Linked DNA regions of Homo sapiens: all the other regions are linked to region 2. Evidence: promoter capture Hi-C in 16 types of primary human blood cells and fetal thymus (Javierre and others, 2016). All regions are on one chromosome and are shown on one strand. The core of a region is centred on a gene start or on the middle of the fragment in contact, and the rest is flanking DNA. Distances in the headings are between cores, read along the strand shown. Region 1 overlaps MMADHC-DT (MMADHC divergent transcript). Region 2 holds the start of TNFAIP6 (TNF alpha induced protein 6). Region 3 overlaps MMADHC-DT (MMADHC divergent transcript).

Region 1 (4,290 bases), core at 1,474-3,973, 1.8 Mb before region 2:
TATACTGTATATTTTATTAGAGAATAGTTTTTCTGTGAAGATAATACCATTAGCTGAGTTGCAAAAAAAATTCTAAATTTTAATATATACTTTCAAACTATTTTTTTCATTCCAAAACTACTTCTGAGGAAACTCTTACATAAAATTAAGGTTAAATATTTTTATATTTCCTGACTTTCAATTTATTACCTATCTTCAAATCAACAATTAACTAATTGATTTACCATATGTTATAGACAATAGAAGTAAAGGGAAAGTGTGAGCATTTACAAAGTCAATTGAAAGAGACATTTAGCTGGAAAATATTTTGAGCATTGTGTTTTAACTTACTGCTCTGGAGGATGAGGATTTAACTCTTTTCAGCTTCTTTCTTCTATCATGTTTAGTCCACTTCAGAACCCACCCACCTCCCAAGATAGCTATATGACAATTTGATTAGACCAGTAATCAGGGTTTATGTTTCTATGACTATGTAATTGCTCATGAATGAGCTAGGTAGCATACCATGATCTTTTTTTCTCTTGACAATATTTTGTTCTCCTTAAAGTTAAGGAGGGCCTGGTTTTACTGTCATTTCTTCCTTTAGTTTTCTATAATCATATCATTTTCTTCGACCAAACTCTCTCAATTGTGGAAACATCTTCTCAAAACTTTTGGACACATTAGGTATTTTGTCACCTTCACTGTCTTGAAGAAATCTCTCCTGAGACTTTTGACCTGCTCCAAACTTAGATTAATTGTTTTCTAGGTCTGCTGTGCAGTTGTGGGATCTTTATTCATGAGTCTTCTCTTTCCTATATCATATTCTTGTTTCCCAAATTTCATATCTTCCTTCTTCTTACTCTTGTGTTGGAGAAGCACACTCTCCACTAGCTTCTTGAGAAGACTTGCATAAGAAGTAAAATTTTTGACATTTATGTACTTCTGAAAATGTCCGTATTCTACCTTCACATATGATTTTAATTTTTACTGCATATAGAATTCTAGGTTGCAAATAATTTTCCATAAAAATTTTGAAAGCATATTTCTATTGTTCTCTGATTTCAGATTGGAATTAGAGAAATCTCTGCCATTGTGATTCTTGAAACTTTGTTTGAAATTCCTTCCCTTTAAACTTGTTTCTGGACTCTTAAATTTTATTATTTTAATTATTATTAATAATTTTTTTAGAGATGAGTTCTTCCTTTGTTGCCCCAAACTGGTCTCAAACTGCTGGGCTCAAGCAGTCTTCCCATCTTGGCCTCCCAAAGTGCTGGGATTACAGGTGTGAGCCACCATGCCTGGCCTGTCTGGACTCTTACTGGATTGTCTAGTTCCTACTCACCCTCCCCCTGACCAAGTGTTTTACAATTTCATAGTGATGGCATTTGGTGTGGGCCTAATTTCCTTCATTATGCTTAGTACTCACTGGATCCTTTCAATATGGAAACTCATGTCCTTCAACTCTATAATATTTTCATGGATTCTTTCTTTGATGATTTTCTTCTCTCCATTTGTATTTGTCTCTGAACTCCTATTATTCAGATAGGAGTTGTATTGTTCTTCTAATGTTTTTCTTTCCTGTTTTCCATATTTTGACTTTTTGTCTTATTTTTGGAATATGTGCTCAATTTTTTATTCCAGCCCTTCTATTAAGGTTTTGTTTTGTTTTGTTTAGGTATGAAACGAATATCTATTTAGGCTAAGAAATTCCCACAAATTACAAATTTTAAAAAGGTGACAAATATTATAAACATTATTTTTTGCTATGCTTTTTGATAATTGTTGGTAATTTGAAATAACAAAGTAGATTTATAATGATCATAAAGGCAAGTTAAGTATATTATTCTGCTATTGGCATTACTTGTCAAATCCAGCAGTCAATTTATTATCTCCTCTTACTCGGTTGTTCTGCAGCATTTGACAGCGGTGACCACTGCATACCTCTTTTGACACACTTTCTTCTTCAGCCTCAATGACACCACAGTCTTCTGGTTGTTTCTTCTGCTTTACTGGTTGGTCATGCTCAGTGTCTTTTGCTGGCTTCTCTTCCTCTGCTGAACTTCTGGATAACGGGGAATTTAATAATGTGCCAAGAATTTAATCCTAGACCTCCTTCTCTTTTCTTATTAACCCTGTAGGTGATTTTATTTTTTTTAATAGAAACTTTATTGAGCTATAATTCACATACCATGAAATTCACCATTTTAAGTTGTATAATTCAATGTTTGTTGTACAATCATCATTACTATCTACTTCTATTTATTTTTCTTCAAAAATATATTTTTATTTTTAAATTTTTTTTACTTGAAAAATCATAATTATATACATTTGTGGGCTATGATGTAATGTTTTGATATATGTATTCAATGTGAAATGACTAAACCAAGTTAATTGACCTAGCCATCACCTTACTTATCTATTGTTTTTTACAGTGAGATATTTGAAATTTACTCTGTCATTTTGAAATATGCAATACATTTTTATTAACTGTAGTCACCTGCTGTGCAATAGATCTCAACACTTATTTCTCCTGTCTGTCTGAAACTTTGTACCCTTTGACCAGCAACTCCACATTCCCTTCCTTCTCTCAATCTCCCAATCTGTGGTAACCATCATTCTACTCTCTACTTCTAAGAGTTCCACTTTTTTAGGTTCCACATATCCACATGTCTTTCTGTATCTGACTTATTTCACTTAGCATAATGTCCTCCAGGTTCATCTCTGTTGTCACAAGTGATAGCATTTCCTTTTTAAAAAAAGGCTGAATGGTATTTCATTGTGTATGCATACCACATTTTGTTTACCTATTCATTCATAATGGATACTTGATTTCATCTCTTGTCTATTGTGAGTAATGCTGGAATGAATGTGGGAGTGCAGAGATCCCTTCAACATGTTGATTTCAATTCCTTTGACTATATACCCAGGAAGTGAGGTTGCTGGAGTATATGGTAGTTCTAGTTTTAGTTTTTTTGAGGAACATCCATACTGTTTTTTTAATAATGCCTCTACTAATTTACATTCTCAACAGCAATGTATAAGAGTTCTCTTTTTGCACATCCTTGCCAACACTTATCTTTCATCTTTTGGATAAAAGCTATTCTAACAGGTATGAGGTAATATCTCATTGCAGTCTTAATTTGCATTTTTCTAATGATTAGTGATACTAAGCATTTTTTCATGTATTTACTGTCCAGTTGCATGACTTCTTTTGAAAAATATCTGTTCAGACCATTTGCCCATATTAAAATCAGGTTATTTGTTTTATTGCTGTATTAGGTCAATCTTGCATTGATATAAAGAAATACCTGAGACTGGGTAATTTATAAAGAAAAGAAGTTTAATTGGCTTATGGTTCTGCAGGCTGTATAGGAAGTGTGGTGCTGGCCCCTGCTTAGCTTCTGGGGAGGCCTCAAGGAGCTTTTACTCATGGTAGAAGGCAAAGTGGAAGCAGGCACGTCACATAGCAAAAGCAGGAGCAAGAGGGGTGGGGTGAGGTGTCACACACTTTTAAATGAACAGATCTCATGGGAACTCACTCACTATTGTGAGGATAGCACCAAGCCTTTGGGGATCCACTCCCATGATCCAATCACCACCCACCAGGCCCCACCTCCATCATGGGGATTATATTTCAACATGAGACTTGGGTAATGGTATGGTTTGGCTGTGTCCCCCTCCAAATTTCAACTTGAATTGTATCTCTCAGAATTCCCAAGTACTGTGGGACGGATCCAGGAGGAGGTAATTGAATCATGGGGGCCAGTCTTTCCCATGCTATTCTTGTTATAGTTAATAAGTCTCATGAGATCTGATTGGTTTATCAGGAGTTTCAGCTTTTGCTCCTTCTCATTTTCTCTTGCCACTGCTATATAAGAAGTGCTTTTCACCTCCTGCTATAATTCTGCGGCCTCCCTAGACATGTGGAACTGTAGGTTCAATTAAACCTCTTTTTCTTCCTAGTCTCAGGTGTGTCTTTATTAGCAGCATGAAAACAGGCTAATACAGGTGGGGACAAATACTCAAACTATATCGTCCTGCTTCTGGTCCTAAATCTCATGTCCTTCTGGTCCTAAATCTCATGTCCTTCTCTAATTGCAAAATACAATTATACCTTCCCAATAGTTCTCCAGAGTCTTAACTAATTCCAGCATCAACTCAAAAGTCCCAAGTCCAGGTTCAAAGTCTCATCTGAGACTCATTTGCTTCCACCTATGAGCCTGAGAAATCAGAACAAGTTATTTGCTTCCAAGATACAATGGGGGTACAGGCATTGGGTTATCATTCCTGCTCCAAAAGGGAGAAATC
Region 2 (4,178 bases), core at 1,273-3,772:
GGTTAAGTCTTCCAGAACCTTGAAAGGAACTTTTTTTTTCTTTTTTTAAGATGGAGTCTGGCTCTGGCACCCAGGCTGGAGTGCCGTGGCGCGATCTTGGCTCACTGTAACTTCCGCCTCCCGGGTTCAAGCGATTCTCCTGCCTCAGCCTCCTGAGTAGCTGGGATTACAGAAGCAAGCCACCACACCCAGTTAATTTTTGTATTTTTAGTAGAGACGGGGTTTCACCATATTGGTCTGGCTGGTCTCAAACTCCTGACCTCGTGATCCTCCTGCCTCGACCTCCCAAAGTGTTGGAATTACAGGCATGAGCCACTGCATCCGGCCTGAAAGGAACTTTTATCAGTGTATCTTCTCTCAGCTCCTCATGAGGCTTATCCTGGGTGGTGTGTGCTGGAGGCTGGGCAGAGGGTGCTTCTTAGACAACTTCCAAGGTAAGTTCATAGGCAACATTTCCTTTGCTACTCTCTCTTTTCTTCTCTCTCGTCCTCAGGATTACCCTCTGCATCTTTTCCATATGAAAACCCCATTTCCTCTTTCCTTTATTGAATGCCCCTCAAAATCAGAACTTACATCATTAGGCATTATTCTCTATTTCCTTGATGATATGGAGGATGAGATTTTCAGACACTATGCAGAGGTAAGGGGAAATATTTATATTCTGCATGAGAGTTGGGAGAGGGGAGAAAGAAATCCTCCACCCCAGATCGGGTTAATTCATCAAAGCAACTCATTAAATTTTCGTGTTAAAAGAAGTTGAACATTCACACTTCGCTCTACTTGGAGCTTCATTAAAATGCAAATGAACACAGAAGGGTATCTGTTCTTAGTTATCTGGCCTAACTAAAGATTAATTGCAAACCCTTTCCTGAGAGTAATTTTTGATAAATGAGAACTAGGGGGAAATTAGGTGCTTGAGAGAGATGCAGAAAGGGCACAGCTGGAGGATGTGACAAGAAAAGAATTGGAAAGACTATGGGAAGGTTTTGCTGTAGCACTGCACAACTAAAGTTATATTTACTTCCTAAACCACAAACTTAAAATACGCATATAATTATACTTTCCAAAGAAATATCATGGTTTATTCCTTCCAACTACCTATGAATCTTGCTCTCAGTAACCATGCCTGTCTTCTCCATAGTCACACCCACCTGGTCTAAACTATACCTTTCTCTTTTGCAACAAACTTAAATTCACTAACCCTATCTGTGAACTTGGATACAATTCCCTCATCTTTCATGTGCCACCAGTCCAAAATAAAGATTTTCAATGCTAGTAACTTTATGTATACCTCAGTGAGCATCCAATAAATTCTGTACTCTCAGCCTACATCCCCATAACTGCTCTTTTGAGAAGAGATGAGACCAGAACACACCTGAGATGTTCAAAGCAAAGATGTCTAAGGGATTCAAAGCTAACTTCAAACCAGAGCATGTCTAGCAAGTTGGCTTTTTCAAAGAACTCCAACATCATTGGAGGGACTAAGAAAGCATGGGAGAAATGAATGCTATAATAGGAGTGAATGGGAAGCAATTTGAGACCAAAAGTAGAGAATCTAAGTAGCAAAAAATGACCAATTTTGTAAAAAAATCAAAAGTTGCCAATAAATGGCTATCAATGAACAATAGGAAATGCCATTAGCATCAGCGGTAGTGGGAGTATTATCAGATATGTTACCCAAGGATTCTACACAAAGGAAGAGGAAAGTTTGGGATATTTGAAGACATGATGACTTTACTGTAATAATTATTATCTATTACCTTGATCGTCTTCTTCAAAGTTAGAGTGGTCTAGGGAAGCTAGGGACAAGTTTTTATTAACTTTGTTAGTCTACCCACCTTTCTCCCAACACTTCAAGAATTTGTGGCCTGGGAAAACTGTGTTATAATAGGACATCCCAAAGCTGCTGGAACATCCTGACGCTCTGAAATTGAAATACTTTTCTGGGAGCTGATACATTTATTTAGCTGCTGACCATAACACACCAAAGACTGCAACAGACCCCACCCTGGAAGAAAAGCAGGCAGAGAATAAGGAAGTCATATATCACTGGAGAAAAATTAGGATTCTCCAAGCTGTGCATACTTTTTGTTTTAAATTTTTTACACAGGCTTGACAATGTTTAGAAAAGCCAGTCCAACATTACCAATAAAAGATTAGTGTTTAACCCCATATCCCATAATTGACACTGCAAATAAGACATTTAGGATTTATCTTGAAATTCCTACTGAAGTTCGATTTTCTTTTAATCACTGCTAAATCTGCATCAAGTTACACAAACTTTCTAACAGAAAAGTGTTTGTGACTAACAATAAATGAACTCCGTTCTTAGTAAGTTAATTTTAAAACATAGATGATCATTCTATCTCCTTAGTTTTGGTTGCCAATGCAAATGAGTCAGAGGATTTGCTTCAGACACTGAGATAATTGTGTAACTCTACAGCGGAAAATGCCATTGGAGAGTACTTGCTGACCTCACAGTTGAAAAAAACTATTTAAAAGATGTGGAAACCAGATGTTTCAGTCACATTTCAGCCACTGCTCTGAGAATTTGTGAGCAGCCCCTAACAGGCTGTTACTTCACTACAACTGACGATATGATCATCTTAATTTACTTATTTCTCTTGCTATGGGAAGACACTCAAGGATGGGGATTCAAGGATGGAATTTTTCATAACTCCATATGGCTTGGTAAGAACCTTCACTCATGAGCCTCTTGTTGAGAATGTCAATTCTTTAAATCATGGAGAAGGAAATTTAAAGCAGTAACTTTTTCTATTCTGTACAAGGCTGATGTTCTCAAAGAAAATGCTTAGGAAAGATAGCCTTTGGAATACATACGCTTTTTTTTTTTTAAGCGTTCTTGTCCTCTAAAATTTAAAAATAGCATTTTATAAAGTGAATTGTTCAGTAGAAAATAGCAGTTAATATTTATATTCAGTATGAAAATATATTTTTAAACTTTTCAAAGCAGATGTAGTAGTACAGTGAGGAGTATTTCTTTAACCAACTAGAAACTCCAATATAGTCTTCTGTTTTTATGTCAATGCATTTGCAATCAGATTTCAGAATCCTAACAGGTAAATTGGAGTCTACGAAAATTTTATAATAATTGCTTCATGGACTCTGAGCTATAGTCTATATCTTAGTTTTTTCAAACATTTTGACTATTTTGACCAAGCCAGCTTGCAGTACAGAAAAAAGTGAAAAATGTTTCTCCTTCTGAATGCATTCTTACCACTTTGATTCTTTCTGTTTCTACTATCCATATAAATACTTTTCTGACCCTTTTGTTAGACAAGGAAAGTTTCTTTTGTTATTTTGTTTTGTTAAATGTAAGGAATGAGACAGGCCAAACAGTGAAGATAAACAATAGATCAAAAAAGGAAAATGCAGAAAATCCAAAACACCCCTTAGATTACAGTATGCTAAACAATGCTTTAATTCTCATGATACAAATTGATATTGCTCTATGTTCATTATTGTGTTTAATAGTAAAAAAAAATTGAATTTCTTGGGGAAAAATGCATAGATTCTTGCATAGAATAAAGAAATAAAGAGAAGGCGAAATTAACCTAGATTTTGATTTTATGCTTTCTAAACAGCACAGTTGTAGAATATTTTCCCTTTCAGCATGTTTCTCTCTGGTAATAACTGCAACCATGCGGATTTCATTAAAAAGCCTAATTTGTAATGCACAGCCTTGCCGCCTATTTTTTTCAGCTTGAGCCAGTGAACTAATTTCACTGTGATCCATTTGGCCAAGACGGGATCTGAAATTTAGTAGAGGAATGAGCCCATCTCTTTATTTTAGTTGAATACAGTCAAATATAGGAAATACACTCATATTTGTCAGGATTTTTTTTAAATGTCATAAAGCTAGTAAGAATTAAATCCAGGCAGATAAACTTTGAAATATTATCAAACCCTCTAATAATCAAGTAATTTAGAGTTGTCTTTTAAAGTGTTGTCATATGTTACAAAAATATAAACCTGGACAATAGAAGTTTTGCCCCAGAGGTAGAGAGAAGCAAATTCAAACGTCTATTAATGTATGCTACAAATCTGAGGGTCAGGATAATTGCAAATTGCTTCAATCTGGGGCAAATTTTTGACCAGCCAGCCTAGCACAGATGTTTATAGTTGGTTGGATCAATATAATCTTTTTAGAAACCATT
Region 3 (4,320 bases), core at 1,792-4,291, 1.7 Mb before region 2:
AGACTTGAAAAATAAAAAAAAAAGAAAGAGGAAACAAATTAAAATTGTTCTATCAGGCTTTGCCAGGGTCTAGAAATCCTAATTTATAATGAAATTGGAGGTGAGCTAAGATAGCAATAGAATGAGAAGTTAGGAAAGGGAAGAAATTGACCAGGAACAGTGAATATACTGCTTACATTATCTTACATCAGAATTCAGGAGTCTCCAACATTCATTAACTAAATTCTCTCTTTTGTGTTTACTCTGATAGTTTTGTAGTTGTGATAATATTATAGATATAGTCTAGTTGTTGACATTTGGAGGTAAGAGTATCTCCAACCTGGGTCAGGTAGCAGTTTAGTAAAGTATTTTCTCTTCATTAAGACGAGAGGTGTTACCAAATGGAATAAGTATTTGACTTTTCTGTGTGACCACATGATATAGGTGTTAAATAGGTTTGTCTTCAGATGCAAACATCAGAAAACCTGACTAAAATCCCTCAGGATTGATGGGGTTTACTTTTTCTAAATAGTGCTAAGTCTGAAGGTAGGTGGCTCTGAGCATTTAGGGGTTTAGACATGTGAACTCTCCTTCCTGGTTGCAAGTAGCAATCCTGGCTTAATCAAGTTTATACTCAAGGCAGAAAGAAGAGAGAATGGATGACAAAAGCTTCCCCAGAACCCACATGTGGAGTTTTCCTATGTCTCATTAGCCAGAACTGGGTTATGTTGGCAAGCCCTTGCTGAAGCAGAGACCAGGAAGGTGAAGATTTAGTTTTTCTGCTCATACTGTGGAAGGTGAAAGGAATGGAGGTTAGGGAGGGTATAGAATTAGCAAGCCAAGAGTTCCTATGTAATGCCAACGTGTAAGTAGGATCTATAAATATTAAATCTAAGAAAACAAACTTTAGTAGAACATACCAAGAAGGACTAACTAATCATCACGGCTGCCCAGAACTGCAATGGGCTCCCCAGTAGGTAATTCATTCCCTATCAGAGCATATGTTTAAACACTGGGTGAATGAGCATTTGACCGATTTACTGTGGAGAAGATTTAAACATTAGATAGATAAGTGGTTGAACTTTATGTCTTCAAAGTTGTCTTCAAATCCTCAGGATTTTATGATACTCTGTAAGCATTCCAATTGCTTGCAATTTGAAAATTGTTTTTTCTTTGTGGTTCGCTTTTCTGTCATGGCCACTGGCACAAATCTGCTTTACTTTTATCTTAACATTAATATCCAACAGTGAGATATCTAGTCTCTACAAAGAAAATGTATTTATCTCTGACTGTGTTCTTATCTTAAATAAAAACCTTTTACCTCCTTCCAGAAATATTGACAGAATAGATGCTGAAAGAATTTTTTTCTAATGGATATGGTTTTTAATTTGATGCATTTTAAACTTTCAAAGGCTTCGTTAAAGCTCACACACATTGTCTTTTAGATGCCCAGTAGGATGTACATTTCTGTAGCAATCTCGAAGCACTTCCCCTATTTTTGTACAAACTTATGAGATAATCCCTATTTGGATTTGAGTCTATGTTCATGAAAGTCAGAAGTTGTTTAAAGAGAAAAATCATGTAAGTAGTGAGTTGAAATTTTGAACTGGGTAATACTGAAAGTTTTGAATTTTTGCCAAATACAGGCCAAACTAAAATGTACCCTAATCCCAGTACTTTATGTGAAATAAGATTGATTTCTGCTTTGTATGAGAAAAAGCTAAACCAAAGATGTTCGAAAAAATGCTGGAATTAATAGTCTACCCAAGAGCAATGAATTATATTTGCCAATCCCTGGAATCAAATGAGTATTTAAAATATACCTGTAAGTCTCAAGACAGAAAACTTTTATTATTATTATTTTCCTTTTCACAAATAGTATCAGGAAAGACTAATTAAACAAGGATGTGGAGAATACAGAACTAACTTAAAAAGAAAAATCCCCAACTTTGATTTTTTAAAAATAATCCAAATTGAATAAAAGTTGAGATATGTTCTTCTCTGGTCAGGCATTATTAAAATAATTGATAGCACTCGGTGATGGTAAGGATATAGGAAAACAGGCCTTGTCATTTATTTCTGGTGGAAATGTAAATTGACTCAAGTGATTTGGAAGGTAATTTTTAAAGTATCTGTAAAAAGCCCTAAAAATGTAATGATCATTGACTCAGAAATTTCACCTTTAGCAATTTATCCTCAGGAAATTCTTACATGAGTTCCAAAATATAACCAAATAATATTGCTGTGGTATTATTTGTAATAGTGAAAAATTGCATATAACCTAAATAAATCATCACTGATACAGTGGTGGTTGAGAAAACTATGGGACATTTGTAGAGTGGCAAATTATGTGGATTTAAAAATATAATAAAGCCTGAAGATGAAAATATCTATAATATATTGAAAAAAGAAAAATGTAGAATATTATGTATAGCCCAATCTCACTTTGATTTTAAAAATTGTATGACTGTATCCATCTTATAAAAAGTTTTGAAGGATATATCATTAACTGTTTAATAGTAGTCACATTTTGGGGCTGGAGTTCAGCATGATTTTACAAAACAATGTCTTAAAAGTTGAACTCAGCCTGAGCAACATGGCGAAACCACTTCTCTACAAAAAATACAAAAATTGCGCCACTGCATTCCAGCCTGGGCAACACAGGGAGACCTTGTCTCAAAAGAAAAAAAAAAAGAACTCAATTTGGGAACCATCTATCCAGTAAAGGCTCTGTTAAGTGTATTTCTTTCATGTTAGGTATCTTAAAAGTATTCATGTGGTCCTAGGAATAGCAAGTCTTACAGCCAGGATGTGTTGAGAAGAAATTGCCTGAGAAATTAGTAAAAAAGGCAATTGGAGATAAATTTACTTCTAGTTCTGGTCTTTACACAGGCTATTTATAATTTGGGCCACATCAACTAAAATTCAGTGCTTCAGTTTGTCTGTCTTGGAAAATGGGAAGCTTAAAGATGAACTGAAACTGAGTAATTCTAAGTGCATCTGTATATGAATGTCAAGCAATATTTATTTACCTCTTTGTTTCCTTCTTTGTGAGTTTTTTTTTTAAGATGGGTATCTTTAAGATTAAGTTATTCTAAGCACACTATCTCTGCATTGTTAAATCCATGGAATGGTTTCTTCTTATTAAATTTCTTCGTATTTGAAGCTTGTCTTGGAGAAAAATAATTTTCTCCTTTTCTGAATATCCTGTCACAACTATAAGGTACACTTCCTTAGGGAAGGGTAGGAAAATTATGCAGAACAATTTTCCTAATGCAGCTATTCTCTTGTTGAGTCTTTATCAACTCCCTTTCTTGCATGCTCTCTGTCTTTTTGCAGGTTTCTATTTCCTTTGCCCAAATGGGATCATCTTGGGATTGTAGGTCCTTTGGACTCAATGATATTTAATAAAGGTCTTACTGTATATTCCAGATCAGAAGGACAGTTCTTTTCTATGGTTAAATTTTTTTTTTAATAATTCTTACTATTCAATGCAATGAATGGAATAAATGGCCATTGAGGGTTGGTTGGTGAACTGAATTTTGTTGTTATTGTTTTTTTACACTTGGCTTTTTCATCTCTCATTTTTTCCCTTAGTTTCATTATGAGAATTTTCTCTTTTTTTTTTTGTATACCACAATTATAGTGGTCGCTCATTTTAAAAATACCTCTCACATATGTAGGTGGTTGGTCATACACCATACATTATATTACATATATAATGAAAGCTGAATTTAAGAATAGATCACAAGTACTAGGATCAAATCTGCTTTCCAAATGTCTTATATTCTATTTCATGATGCAGTTTTGAAGAAAGTGCTATGACATTTGCCAAACACATCTATCAATGCATGGAATATAATGCATCACTTGCTGTCTTTTATGCTCAGTGAAGCTCCAAGCTGAGGTGGTTGCCTCTAGACAAGAACAGCATTAGAGCATTTCTGGTTCAGTATCATTTGGCATGATACAGAGCCATTAATGCAGGTGTCTAAAGGGCTTTGAAAGCACTTGGCAGGTCAGTGCCTTTTAAACATGATTAATAGCCATTAATTAGTTTTATTTAATTTACTATTATATTATAGTCAATTCTAGAGGTAAGATAATACACAAATTTTAAATAACCCAGTAAGAAAGAATACATTAGAATTAAATAACCAAGACTAACCCAAGTCATTAAGAATAAAAATCTTCAAAAAACTTCTGAATATCTAGATCAAAGTTGTCCAGTAGAAATATAATGCAAGCCACATTCATAATTTAAAATTTTCCAGTCACATTAAAAATAAATGGCATTAATTTTAATAATATATTTAATTTTACTCAATATAATAAAAATAT

Evidence for each region. Contacts are between HindIII fragments. The CHiCAGO score rates a contact against its expected background, and 5 or more counts as called.
Region 1: a contact is called between a fragment that was not itself captured here and the fragment with the promoter of TNFAIP6 in region 2, in 1 of 17 cell types (total B cells). The highest score is 5.6, in total B cells.
Region 3: a contact is called between a fragment that was not itself captured here and the fragment with the promoter of TNFAIP6 in region 2, in 1 of 17 cell types (naive CD8 T cells). The highest score is 5.3, in naive CD8 T cells.

Annotation. Positions count from the first base shown.
Region 1 is chr2:149,603,764-149,608,053 of GRCh38, forward strand. All of the region lies in intron 1 of MMADHC-DT (MMADHC divergent transcript), which reads left to right. Among named protein-coding and RNA genes, the nearest start is that of MMADHC, 18 kb to the left of the region's middle. The HindIII fragment of the contact is 5,475 bases long and covers 1-4,290 here.
Region 2 is chr2:151,355,070-151,359,247 of GRCh38, forward strand. It overlaps TNFAIP6 (TNF alpha induced protein 6), which reads left to right and starts at 2,523. Exons shown (of 6, transcript NM_007115.4): 1 at 2,523-2,691. The coding sequence starts at 2,598. The region is part of intron 2 of LOC101929319 (a long non-coding RNA gene); the gene reads right to left. The HindIII fragment of the contact is 6,797 bases long and covers 1-4,178 here.
Region 3 is chr2:149,624,383-149,628,702 of GRCh38, forward strand. The region is part of intron 1 of MMADHC-DT (MMADHC divergent transcript); the gene reads left to right. Among named protein-coding and RNA genes, the nearest start is that of MMADHC, 39 kb to the left of the region's middle. The HindIII fragment of the contact is 204 bases long and covers 2,940-3,143 here.